4 separate regions of the Homo sapiens genome follow, and all the other regions are linked to region 4. The links are contacts of gene promoters, found by promoter capture Hi-C in human tissues and cell types (Jung and others, 2019). All regions are on one chromosome and are shown on one strand. Each heading gives the region's core, a stretch centred on a gene start or on the middle of the fragment in contact. The rest is flanking DNA. Distances are from core to core; before and after follow the strand shown.

Region 1 (3,154 bases), core at 609-3,108, 480 kb before region 4:
GCCTCAGCCTCCCAAGTAGCTGGGACTATAGACACGCACCACCACGTCTAGCTAATTTTTGTATTTTTAGTAGGCACTGGGCTTCACTGTGTTGGCCAGGATGGTCTCAATCTCCTGACCTCAGGTGATCCATCTGTCTCGGCCTCCCAGAGTGCTGGGATTACAGGTGTGAGCCACTGCTCCTGGCCAGGAGTCCATTTATTACAGGGTCTCCATATGCCCCAACTCTAAAGGGGGGATCCTGAGGATGCTTTGAGTCCCATACTGGTATCAATTTCATTTCAGACCTTGTGTCCAACAGTCCTTGTATTGCTTGGGTAATATTGCTCTTTCCACTGCGTTTGGGGGCCCAAACAAATACTAGTGGACCTTTTTGAGGAAGGACTGGAGGAATCATTGCCAAATACATTTATTAGAGTGTCACGGGGTCCTCCTTCTGGAGACCTGGCAGCTGCTTCAGTCACTGGGTTGCAGGTCTGAAGACTGGTTGTGATCCAGAAGCTGAGCAATGAATCATGACTCAGCTTCTTGATCATCTAGCCTGGGTTCCTTTTAATTGTCTAGGTTGAGTAATATCCTTGTTGGCCATCTCACCTTTAAGAACATCATGAACTATTAGCCATCTCCATCGCTCTCTGCAGGTCAGGACCCTCTGGCTGCTGTTCCAACTTCATAGATCATTGTAATTGCAACTATTTGCTTCTGATGGTTACATGCTGCTCTCTGGCCTCTATTATTTTAAGATACTATTATTCCCATTGCTATCAAGGTGCCCTGTTCTGAAACCACAAGGGCAGCTACCACTGAGCTTCTCAGTAATACCAATATCACTTTTCTTTTTTTGAGACAGGGGCTCACTCTGTCACCCAGGCTGGAGTGCAGTAGCATGATCTCGGCTTGCTGCAACCTCTGTCCACCCCTAGGCACAATTGATCCTCCCATCTTAGCTTCCTGAGTAGTTGAGACCACAAGCATGTACCACCATGCCTGGCTATTTTTTCTGTATTTTTAGTAGAGATGGGGTCTCACTGTATTGCTTAGGCTGGTCTTGAACTCCTGAGCTTAAGTGATCCACCCACCTTGGCCTCCCAAAGGGCTGAGATTACAGGTGTGAGCCACCGTGCCCAGCCCCTCCAATGTCACTTTCATCAGAGAATTCCTTGGAGCTCTTCTGTGGAAAAGTCATTTGGTAAGTTTCCTGGTTTTACACGGTATATCCATTCTAACTTTCCTCTTCTTTTAGTCTTTTGATCCCTACTTGCACCATCTCCTATAGCAGTTCTGATATTTCTTTTTTTTTTTTTTTTTCTGAGATGGAATTTTGCTGTTTTTGCCCAGGCTGGAGTGCAATGGTGCAATCTCGGCTCACTGCAACCTCCACCTCCCAGGTTCAAGCGATTCTCCTGCCTTAGCCTCCTGAGTAGCTGGGATTACAAGTGCCTGCCACCACGCCTGGCTAATTTTTGTATTTTTAGTAGAGATGGGGTTTCACCTTGTTGGCCAGGCTTGAACTCCTGACCTCAGGTGGTCCACCCGCCTCAGCCTCCGAAAGTGCTAGGATTATAGGCATGAGCCACTGTACCCGGCCTCTTTTTTTTTTTTTTTTTTTTTTTGAGACAGAGTCTCACTCTGTCACCCAGGCTGCAGTGCAGTGGTGTGATCTCGGCTTACTGCAACCTCACCCTCCTGGGTTCAAGCAATTCTCCTGCCTCAGCCTCCCAAGTAGCTGGGATTACAGGTGCAAGCCACTACTCCCCATTAATTTTTTGTTTGTTTGTTGTTGTTTGTTCGCTTGAGACAGAGTCTCACTCTTGTTGCCCAGGCTGGAGTGCAATGGCGTGATCTCGTCTCACAGCAAGCTCTGCCTCCTGGGTTGAGGTGATTCTCCTGCCTCAGCCTCCCCAGTAGCTGGGATTACAGGTATGCGCCACCTTGCCCAGATAATTTTTTTTGTATTTTTAGTAGAGACGAGGTTTCCCCATGTTGGCCAGGCTGGTCCCAAATTCCTGACCTCAGGTGATCCACCTACCTCAGCCTCCCAAAGCGCTGGGATAAGAGGCATAAGCCACCACGCTCGGTCTAATTTTTGTATTTTTATTTGTTTGTTTTTTTTTTTTTTTTTTTGAGACAGAGTTTCGCTCTGTCGCCTAGGCAGACAGAGTGCAGTGGCGCGATCTTGGCTCATTGCAAGCTCTGCTTCCCGGGTCCACGCCATTCTCCTGCCTCAGCCTCCCGAGTAGCTGGGACTACAGGCACCTGCCACGGCGCCCGGCTAATTTTCTGTATTTTTAGTAGAGGTGAGGTTTCACCGTGTCAGCCAGGATAGTCTCAATCTCCTGACCTCTTGATCCACCCACCTCGGCCTCCCAAAGTGCTGGGATTACAGGCGTGAGCCACCGCGCCCAGCCTAATTTTTGTATTTTTAGTAGAGATGGGGTTTCACCATGTTGGCCAGGCTGGTCTCAAACTCCTCAAGTGATCCACCCACCTTAGCTTCCCAAAGAGCTGGTATTAGAGGTATGAGCTGCCCGGTCTGATATTTCTATTTATTTATTACAGCCCATCACTTTCTCTAAGCTCATAAGACCCATCCTAAGAATATGTTAGCACTATTTCTCAGGGTCCTTGTCAGGGTGTTAAATCCTGTGTTCCAAGTTGATAACCTCTCCCTATTTTGGTTGAGAATTGGAATCCTCAGAATCCAGTCCCATGAATATTCTCCTGCCATTTGTCAGTACATATTGGTTATGTTCTACAGCTCCTTTAGCTATAGTCTCTTTCCTCCTTCGGCATGTCCTGGTCATTCATGTTGTTATTTAATTTTAGTTATTGGTCCAATGATTAGGTTGGGACTTTAAAGTAGATCCAGATGGCAAGGCACCTATCTTTTTTTTTTTTTTTTTTTTTTTGAGACAGGATCTTGCTCTGTCACCCAGGCTGGAGTGCAGTGGCGCAATTTCGGCTCACTACAGCCTCGACCTCCCATGTTCAAGTGATTATCCGGCTTCTGCCTCCTGAGTAGCTGGGATTACAGGTGCACACCACCATGCCCAGGTAAACAGGCACCTGTCTTGTAAGGCAGGTATTTTTACATTGTCTTCAAGCAAGGAGGAATGCTAAGCTTTAACAAAGAGGAATGGGCAATGTGTTGGGT
Region 2 (3,298 bases), core at 795-3,294, 310 kb before region 4:
GCTTCAGGGGCTCAGGATATGGGCTGGGGGAAATGGGGTTACAGGTTTGACGATAAAACTTGTACTGCCTCTCTCCCATTCCCAACATCTCTCTTGTTTCAGTGCGTTTGCTTCTGAGGATCTCCAGTGTCACAACAAACACATGCCAGCCCTGTTTTACAGGGAGCCCTGGAGGAGTTGGGATAGAGGCCACATTGACTGAGGGTAGTTGCCAGGGTCCTGCAGTTATACACAAAGGTCAGTCTCTGATTCCTGGATGCCTTCCATTGGTCCTGGGCATGCTGCCTTTTTCTGTGGGCTATGAGATCACAGTTAGCTAGTCTGCATTACTGTCCATCACCAGATTGCTACCCCCCAGTATGGAGCTTCCTATTTTGTGTAACTTCCCAATATTCTGTATCTTCTTTGTTAAGTCCTTAGGATAAGACCATGGCCTTGAGAGCATGTGGCTTGATCATCTTCCGAAGATGCCTCATTCCCAAAGTGGACAACAATGCAATTGAGTTTTTACTGCTGCAGGCATCAGATGGCATTCATCACTGGACTCCTCCCAAAGGTAGAGGCCAGAGGGGCCAGCTCTTGGGAAACTGCCAACCACTGCTCAGAAATCTACCCTGCCAGGCCCTCCCCAAGGCTTAATTCCCAGTGACTGTGTAGCAAAAAGGGGTAGGGAAGGTAGGAGCTCTTGACCCTTTCTACATACAAGGTCTCCAGACCAGGCCAGAGTAGAGCTGAGAATTCTGTGACTGAATTCCAGGGTAGAAACAGCACCTGGTGTTTTTATGAGTATCATTCGCCAGCTCTCCAACCTCTGTGGTGAATGGCTGGGTAAGAGAAAAAACAGTGGGCAGGGAATTGGGGACCTTGAGGTTGACTGAGCTATGTGCCCACCTCTCAGCTTTGAGTTTTTCATCTGTCAAACAAGGGCTTGACTAGAAAATCCTGTTTTCAGCCAGGCACAGTGGCACACGCCTATAATCCCAGCACTTTTGGAGGTCGAGGTGGGCAGATTGCTTGAGCCCAGGAGCTCGAGACCAGCCTGGGCAAAATGGCAAAACCATGTCTCTACAAAAAATACAAAAATTAGCCAGGTGTGGTGGTGCACACCTGTAGTCCCAGCTACTCAGGAGGCTGAGGTTAGAGAATAACTTGAGCTCGAGAGATCAAAGCTGCAGTGAGCCGAGATTGTGCCACAGCACTCCAGCCTGGACAACAGAGCCTGTCTCAAAAAAAAGAAAATCCTAAGTTTTCTTCCAGCCTGTCTCTGATTTCATTTGATCAATTTCCTTTGACTCCTAGTTCAGTGTCCCTATCATTAGGTTTTTCTTTTCTTTTTTTTTTTGAGACAAAGTCTCGCTTTGTCGCCCAGGCTGGAGAGCAGTGGGGCAATCTCAGCTCACTGCAACCTCCATCTCCCAGGTTCAAGCAATTCTCCTGCTTCAGCCTCCTGAGTAGCTGGGATTACAGGCGCCCACCACCACGCCTGGCTAATTTTTTGTATTTTTAGTAGAGACGGGGTTTCACCATGTTGGCCAGGCTGGTGTCAAACTCCTGACCTCAGGTGATCTGCCCGTCTGAGCCTCCCAAAGTGCTGGGATTACAGGCGTGAGCCACCGCACCCAGCCAGGTTTTTCTTTTGAACTAAACACAGAGAGTATGAGTTCTACAGTGTTTCTGAACATAGTTGTATTTTGAGTTGGAGCATAGAGAAGTTGGGCTCCCTGATCATAGATTCATCTGCAGATTGTGGCAGGAGTGGAGGAGTGAGGAGATGGGCAGGGCCTTCTTAGACCAGGAGGGGATGGGCAGGGCCTTCTTAGACTGTAAAGATTATGGAGACCTTGAGATTGCAGCTTGACCAGCTAGCTACCTGTGCCTTGAGTCTATCACTCAGCACTGAGGGTGGAGTCGGGCAAGTCTCCAGTGGGAAGAACAGTGAAGACTACTGGCCTGAGGCCTTAGGCCAGGCCAAGATCTGTTTGTAAGCTGGCCAGTTTTCATCCACCAGCACTCCTGACCTCACCTCTAAGAGTAAGAAAGCTGCAGTCATTTGGTCCTGAAAGAGAAGCCAGGCTGTGTGGGGAGAAATGGGAAAAAGGAGCCCTTCTTGGCTGAGGCCATTGGGATGGTTTGAGTTGGGAGGGACAGACTGTGGCTCAGGTGCCTGCTGGAATGAGGAATAGCCCTCAGACAGAAGGAAGCAGGGACTTTATTTTTTAAATTATTTTGTTATTATTATTACTATTTTATAGAGACAGGGTCTTACTATATTGCCCAGGCTGGTCTTGAACTCCTGGGCTCAAGTGATCTGCCCACTTGGTCTCCCAAAGTGCTGGGATTATAGGCATGAGCCACCACGCCTGGCCAGAAGCGGGGACTTTAAAAGGGAGTGGGGTTAGAAGGGATGGACAAAGATCCAGGATTGAAGGAAAACAAGGAAATGGGAACAGGAAATAAATTTTGCATGTTTGAGTTGTACTGGGGAGAAACAAGGTGAAAAAAGAGGCAGAAGCTTCACAAATACTATGAATAGGAATATTCACACTTGTCTCCGGATCACATGAGTCACACTGCCTTGTTCCTCTCACTACCTGATGTCAGTGGACCTCTCCTAATCCTTTCCTGCTTCGGCAGAAGCTACCCTGTTAATTAACACTGATGGACAGAATACTGAATAGATGCCCCTGGGAGGGGTGTGCTCAGGGACTTCCATACACCTCTGAGGGGAGGTAGGACGTCCTGAGTCAGTATCACCCATCACTACTAGCATCCCTCCCACCTTGCTCCCCTGATGCATTACCTGTCTGTCTTTGTGTACACCACTATAGGAGGTGCTTGTGCAGAGAAAATTCCCCAGAAGCTATAAGCTAGAATGGTTTTTAAGTGCTAAGTTTCTGGGGGTTTTGTTTGTTTGTTTGAGACGGAGTCTCGCTCTGTTGCCCAAACTGGAGTACAATGGCACAATCTTGGCTCGCTGCAACCTCCGCCTCCTGGGCTCAAGTGATTCTCCTGCCTCAGCCTCCCGAGTAGCTGGGATTACAGATGTCCACTGCCACGCCCAGCTCATTTTTGTATTTTTAGTAGAGACAGGGTTTCACCATGTTGGCCAGGCTGGTCTCAAACTCCTGACCTCAGATGATCCACCCGCCTCGGCCTCCCAGAGTGTTGGGATTACAGGCATGAGCCACCGCCCCTGGACCCTGGGGAGTTTTTTGTGCAGCAGCTGGCTCTGGGCATTGTAGACCCCTGGGAAGGATGAGGGCCCCCATCTCCAAACCAAGGAGAGAACAACTGAGTT
Region 3 (3,278 bases), core at 520-3,019, 360 kb before region 4:
AGCTAGGTATATATCCTAGACAACCCATGTGCTCTGTACAGAAATACATGTATAAGCACACTCACAGCTGCAATGCTCCAAATAACTCTAAAATAGAAACAACCCCAGTTGTTTATTAACAGGAGAATGGATAAATTGTGGTATATTCCTATGATAAAACACTCTACAGAAAATAAAAATGAAGAAAACTAAAGCCAAATGCAAAAACCTCAATGGAACTGAAAAGCATAATATTGAGCAAAAGAAACAAAACACCAAAAAATACACAGTGTAGTTCTACTCAAGCAAAGTTCAAAAACAGATGAAAACTAACTTAGATGGTTTGGGGATAAATACATAGGTGGTAAAACTATAACAAATAACAAGAAAGTGATCAGCACAAAAGTCAGGATAATAGGGGGGTGTTATTGGAAAGTCACACAGGGGGTTTGTAGGGTGCTACAATGTTCTATTTCTTGATCTGAGTAGCTGATTACAAGGGTGCTTGTTTCTTTATACTGTACATACTTAGGTTTTATGCATTTTTCTGTATAGTGCTATTTTTCACAATAAAAAAGGTTAAATCATTTTTTAAGTAAGGAAAAAAAGGCTCCAAACAATCTAATGTAAAGCCAGGGTTGAGGAACACTGCATTAAAGGAAGGTTCAACAGAAATCTATTTGTACTTACGTTAATAAATGCCCAGAACAGGAAAAAAAAATTAAATATTTTACCGTGGACAGTGGATAGCTCAGTGGGGAACAGGGGAAGTGGGGTATGTATAGTAAGTTAGAGGGGCCTTTACTATCTTCTTACATATTTCTGTAATGTTTAAACTTAATGATAAGTATGACTTTTATTACAATAAAAGAATAACTTAATAAAAGAAGCAGATTGAAAAATTCCTTTGGAAGGACACACAAAAAACTAATAAAATTAGTTGCTCTGGAAAAGGAAATGGAAGTGGGTATTTTCACTTTTGAATTCTGAACTCATGTGATAGTATTACTTATTAAAAATTGTATTTAAAATAAGGGCCAGGTGCGGTGGCTCACGCCTGTAATCCTAGCACTTTAAGAGGCCAAGGTGAGAGGACTGCTTGAGGTCAGGAGTTCGAGACCACCCTAGGCGACACAGCAAGACACCATCTCTACAAAAAATTTTTAAAAATTAGCCAGGTCTGGCAGGGCGTGGTGGCTCACGCCTGTAATCCCAGCACTTTGGGAGGCCAAGGTGGGCGGATCATGAGGTCAGGAGATCGAGACCATTCTGGCAAACACGGTGAAACCCCGTTTCTACTAAAAAATACAAAAAATTAGCTGGGCGTGGTGGCGGGTGCCTGTAGTCCCAGCTACTTGGGAGGCTGAGACAGGAGAATGGCATGAACCCGGGAGGCAGAGCTTGCAATGAGCAGAGATTGCGCCACTGCACTCCAGCCTAGGTGACAAAGTGAGACTCCATCTCAAAAAAAAAAAAAAAAAATTAAAAAAAAATTAGCCAGGTGTGGTGGCATGTGCCTGCAGTCCCCAGCTACTTGGGAGGCTGAAGTGGGAGGCTGCGGTGAGCTATGACTACACCTCTATACTCCAGCCTGGGCAACAGAGCAAGACCCTGTTGCTTAAAAAAAAAAAAAAAAAAAAGTAAAAAGAATTTAAAGTGCAAATATTTGTCTCCAGCAGCTTTTCCCAGAGCCCACTGCCATAGAGAAACACATTAGCAGCATTTGAAACTGGCCCAATAAGGCTGGGTGCGGTGGCTCACGGCTGTAATCCCAGCACTTTGGGAGGTCGAGGCGGGTGGATCACCTGAGGTCAGGAGTTCAAGACCAGCCTGGCCAACATGGTGAAACCCTGTCTCTACTAAAAATACAAAAATTAGCCAGGTGTGGTGGTGGGAGCCTGTAATCTCAGCTACTCAGGAGGCTGAGGCAGGAGAATTGCTTGAACCCACGAGGCAGAGGTTGCAGTGAGCAGAGATTGTGCCATTGCACTCCAGGTTGGGTGACAGAGCGAGACTCCATCTCAAAACAACAACAACAACAACAAAAAGAAACTGGCCCAGTAGTATCCTCCCAATGAATTAAGTTCTCCCACATGCCCTACCTCCCACTAATCGTGGGAGAAACCCTATAGAGAAACAAGCTATCCTCTCAGAAAAGAATTCACATTTTACAGATGGGAAGTGGTGGGCTTGTCATTGCCCTTTGCCTAAATATAAGTCCACAGTACTTGCTTAGTAGCAAAATGAATTTGTTCCCTGTACTTACACTGTTGTGGTGGGGTAATAAAGAAGGAAGAATTAATTACCTCTAAGAGGAGCTCCACACTGTCCACCTGAAGCTCTTGCAGTCCCACTATCTGCACCATGTGCTTGCTATCTTCTCTTGCAAAGAGCCTGCAGATGCAAGAAAGTGGTTGGTATGATGGTGCTACTAAAACAGACTTTGTTCTTGCCTCCCCAGAAACCATTCCACCATTCCTCTATTAAGTAGCAGTTTTCTGTTTGAGTGGGATGGATGCTTATCCTCCTCCCAACCCCACCCTCCTGACCTCAGCCCGATTCAGGGGTGGTTGTTGATTGTTGTAAAATAAATCAACAACTCTGGCTACAATTAAAAGAATGAGCACATATCTAAACTATGCTAATCAGTGGATGATGTACACCTGGCTATACTGTGATTTGTTCAGAGGTGGATATGGGATCTCTGCTGGTCCAATCAAAGTAAAGTCCTGGTCTCTGGTTGTTAGATGCCTGGTGAAGTGATGCTCTCTCTCTGTCCCTGGATGTGAAAGCATATGGCCCTGTGGCCCTGGGAGCAGTGGAAGCCATTTTGTATCTACAAAGAGAGTTGGCTTCAGGATGAAACTAATAACACAGAAGACAGAATGAAGAGATGCAAATAAACTGGGTCCTTATTGCATCCCTGAGCTGCTGGAGTAAACCAATGCTGAAGCCTGACTGTCCTCTAAGCTTTCCAGTTATTTGAGCCAATGATTTCCCTAAATGCTTAAGCTAGTACACATGGGGTTTTCTTTTATTTGCAATGTAAAGAGACCTGATACATCTTATAAAGGAGCAAGGAAGAGCTGGGCTGCATCTGAATGCCTTAGGACTGCATTCAAGGTAATAAATGGTTATGGTCTACCATCATCATTAAACCAGATCCACTGAGAGGCATATGTTGAATCTATCAAAGACTCTAAGATTATTTTTCCCTCTTAATAAGATACTGATTAGGGTTAAGAACGGAATTCCACTTCATAACTTAAAATACAAGAATGATTTTCTCAAAAATAATT
Region 4 (3,414 bases), core at 915-3,414:
GTCTGGATTGGGATCTCTTTACTGTAACAACACCTCTGGGATCTGGCAGGGAGGGAGCTGGTTAGGCCCATCTTAGTCATTCTCCTCTTCCTCCAAAAAATGACCTTGGGGAGTCATAGAGGAGAATTATGGAGATGTTCCTGAAGAGATGTTCCTGATGGGGGTCAGGATTTAATTAGCATGATTCAGGGGGCGGCACTGAAGCACTGGTGTTCTTGGGAAAATGGAGCTGTCTACAAGCTCTAGTCACTCAAACAAATATAAATGAGAGAATGGAAAAGCAGATCTCCTGTTCCTGTCTCACCTCTTTGGGTAATATGAACAGCCAGTGGGACAGGTAAAACCCCTGTTTCTCAGTCCTCAGCTCCCTGCCCCCTACCTCTGAAGGTAGCCTCTTCCTATTCCAGTCTGAGGACCCTAGGGCAGAGATCAAGTAAATGACCCATGACCTAGTTTTTGCAGCTCAATTGCAAAACACCTGGCTTGGCTTGGTCTTGATTGGGGGAAGGGATGTCCCTGCTATGGCTCAACTTCTAACTCACTGGGTCTCTGTCCTGCATTCCACTGAAGCCTCAGAGGCATCTCACAGCACTGGGAAAAGCCTTGGAAACTTGCATTCAAATCTCAGCTTGGCCACTAATTCTCTGGGTGACCTTGAGTCCTCTGGGCTCCAATGTGAAATGGGGAAGAGGTTTAGACAATATTTAGATGGCTCTTTAAAAGTACTGGGGGCCAGCTGTTTGGGAGGCTGAGGCAGGAGGATCACTTGAAGTCAGGAGTTCAAGACCAGCCTGGCCAACATGTGAAACCCCGTCTCTACTAAAAATACATAAATTAGCCCAGTGTGGTGGCACACAGCTCTAATTCCAGCTACTTGGAGGCTGAGGCAGGAGAATCGCTTGAACCTGGGAGGTGGAGGTTGCAGTGAGCCAAGATCACGCCACTGCACTCCAGCCTGGGTGGCAGAGTGAGACTCTCTCTCAAACAAACAAACAAACAAAAGTACCAGGGGAGGAATTAATTTGAATTTTATCCTAGTGTTAGCCAATTGGTCCCATCCAAGGAAAATTTAGAAAAGGGAAGGGGATGTGTAAAGGAAACACTAGGCCCCACCTAGATGGTGGCTGGAGCTTCTGATAGTCCTGTACTCTCCACATTTTTAGACTTTCTTGTACTTTTTTTTTTTTTTTTGTGACGGAGTCTGCTCTGTCGCCAGGCTAGAGTGCATGGGCACAATCTCGGCTCACTGCAACCTCTGCCTCCTGGGTTCAAGTGATTCTCCTGCCTCAGCCTCCCGAGTAGGTGGGACTACAGGTGCACGCCACCAAGACCAGCTAATTTTTTTTTTTTTTTTTTTTACTAGAGACGGGGTTTCACCATGTTGGCCAGGATGGTCTCAATTTCTTGACCTTGTGATCCGCCTGCCTTGGTCTCCCAAAGTGTTGGGATTACAGGCGTGAGCCACCGAGCCCGGCCATTTTTAGATTTTTTTTTATAGCCCTTTTACCCCTCCCACTTCTTGTGCTGTCTTGGTGTGTGTATGAAAAAGAGAGAGAGAGAGAGAGGAAGGAGAGCAAGAGTGAGAGAAAAAGAGAATATGGTTACTTAGCCCTTTTTCCCAAATCTGTTTTTGCTTTTGGGGATAGGATATGGTTATGGTGAAGTACTCCACACAGACCCCACCAAGTTTGCCTCTCCTGCGCTACAGCCACTGAGCAGGTGACTGAGGCGCTGTTGATCCAGGGTCATATCCTTACTCGCCCTAGAATGTAAGCTCAGGCAGGGCAGAGGCCATGCCTGACATGTGCATCCCAATGCTTTACACAGCCTAGGTGCCTAGCACATGCTAGATGCTTGGTAAATATTTGCTGAATGAAAGATCAAATGAATGATTGCAGCAAGCAAGTCCTGTAGGCATCCTGGAGCCCAAGGATTCTGCAGTAGGCAGCTTTCACAGAGGTTCTTCCAGTGTAGTGGCTCTAGCTCTGGGTGAAGTAGGATCATCAATGTCGGCCCCCAGGGTTCACAGCTGTTCTGAGCCCCGCCCCCAGGTGGCAGGGCAGCCCAGTCAGTCAGTCACGTGCTGGCGGCTGGCCAATCATCGGGGGCGGCGCGGGGAGGGGTGGTGTGGACGGAGAAAGTGAAAGGTGAGGCACGGCCCTGCAGATTTTCCAGCGGATCCCCCGGTGGCCTCATGTCGCGCAGTGGAACCGATCCTCAGCAACGCCAGCAGGCGTCAGAGGCGGACGCCGCAGCAGCAACCTTCCGGGCAAACGGTAACTGCACCGCGGCAGGGACTCGCTGGGGCGCGGAGCCGAGCCCTCCCCTTCCTTAGGAAGCTTTCGTCCCCTCCGAAGGTTGGAACGCTCATCCCGAGCCAGACCGACAAGGCGTACAGTCTGCAGGCCTGTACGAGCAGCAGGCCAATTGGCGCTGGGAAAGTCCAATCCTGGGCCTCTAGCTCCTGAGCGGGACAGGGCCGAGAGGGCGCTCCCGAGCTTGGGCCTGCTGGTGGGTGAGACCCAGGAGAGAGGGAGCTAGAGAGCTCTGAGGACTGATCTTGACTGTCTGCCCCCAGACCATCAGCATATCCGCTACAACCCGCTGCAGGATGAGTGGGTGCTGGTGTCAGCTCACCGCATGAAGCGGCCCTGGCAGGGTCAAGTGGAGCCCCAGCTTCTGAAGACAGTGCCCCGCCATGACCCTCTCAACCCTCTGTGTCCTGGGGCCATCCGAGCCAACGGAGAGGTAAGCCTGTAGAGCCCTGCATCTGCAGGCTGGGCCACGGGGAGTAGTTCCCTCTTAGAACTGTCCTCCACCCACAGGGATAGTGAACCTCCTTCTGGGTCATATCCCACCAAGCTTTTTGGTCCCCTAGGGTGGGCCTTCCCTACTCCCTTGTAGCCTGTCCAGTCTTTGAAGCCCACCAGGTAACTGGTGGTATGGGGCAGTGAGTGCTTCTAGCCTATCCTTGTCGGTAGGTGAATCCCCAGTACGATAGCACCTTCCTGTTTGACAACGACTTCCCAGCTCTGCAGCCTGATGCCCCCAGTCCAGGTAACCTGGCTCCAACTGCTGCTGGGGAGGAGGGTGGCTAGACCTCTTGAGGGACTTCTGCTGCAGAGAGTGATACTCCTTTACCTCAGGACCCAGTGATCATCCCCTTTTCCAAGCAAAGTCTGCTCGAGGAGTCTGGTAACTATGGATTTCCCCTCTTACAACTTTCAAACCAGAGTTGGAGACTCAGCATTGGGGTTCGGCCCTGCCCGTAGCACAGCCAAGCCCTACCTCTCGGTTATCTTTTCTCCCGTCACCACCCAGTAAGGTCATGTGCTTCCACCCCTGGTCGGATGTAACGCTGCCACTCATGTCGGTCCCTGAGATCCGGGCTGTTGTTGATGCATGGGCCTCAGT

Evidence for each region. Contacts are between HindIII fragments. The study calls those that stand out against the background at their distance.
Region 1: a contact is called between a fragment that was not itself captured here and the fragment with the promoter of GALT in region 4, in 1 of the 25 tissues and cell types used here (fat).
Region 2: a contact is called between a fragment that was not itself captured here and the fragment with the promoter of GALT in region 4, in 1 of the 25 tissues and cell types used here (hippocampus).
Region 3: a contact is called between a fragment that was not itself captured here and the fragment with the promoter of GALT in region 4, in 1 of the 25 tissues and cell types used here (heart left ventricle).

Annotation. Positions count from the first base shown.
Region 1 is chr9:34,163,127-34,166,280 of GRCh38, forward strand. No RefSeq gene overlaps it. Among named protein-coding and RNA genes, the nearest start is that of UBAP1, 14 kb to the right of the region's middle. The HindIII fragment of the contact is 3,163 bases long and covers 278-3,154 here.
Region 2 is chr9:34,338,611-34,341,908 of GRCh38, forward strand. It overlaps NUDT2 (nudix hydrolase 2), which reads left to right. Exons shown (of 5, transcript NM_001161.5): 3 at 103-237; 4 at 414-556. The coding sequence starts at 430. Among named protein-coding and RNA genes, the nearest start is that of NUDT2, 11 kb to the left of the region's middle. The HindIII fragment of the contact is 7,642 bases long and covers 1-3,298 here.
Region 3 is chr9:34,284,332-34,287,609 of GRCh38, forward strand. It overlaps KIF24 (kinesin family member 24), which reads right to left. Exons shown (of 13, transcript NM_194313.4): 6 at 2,286-2,373. Among named protein-coding and RNA genes, the nearest start is that of KIF24, 43 kb to the right of the region's middle. The HindIII fragment of the contact is 3,184 bases long and covers 178-3,278 here.
Region 4 is chr9:34,644,511-34,647,924 of GRCh38, forward strand. It overlaps GALT (galactose-1-phosphate uridylyltransferase), which reads left to right and starts at 2,165. Exons shown (of 11, transcript NM_000155.4): 1 at 2,165-2,276; 2 at 2,579-2,748; 3 at 2,982-3,057; 4 at 3,147-3,195; 5 at 3,322-3,414. The coding sequence starts at 2,195. RefSeq lists a silencer at 402-696 and enhancers at 402-696, 1,910-2,019, 2,590-2,769. The HindIII fragment of the contact is 1,689 bases long and covers 912-2,600 here.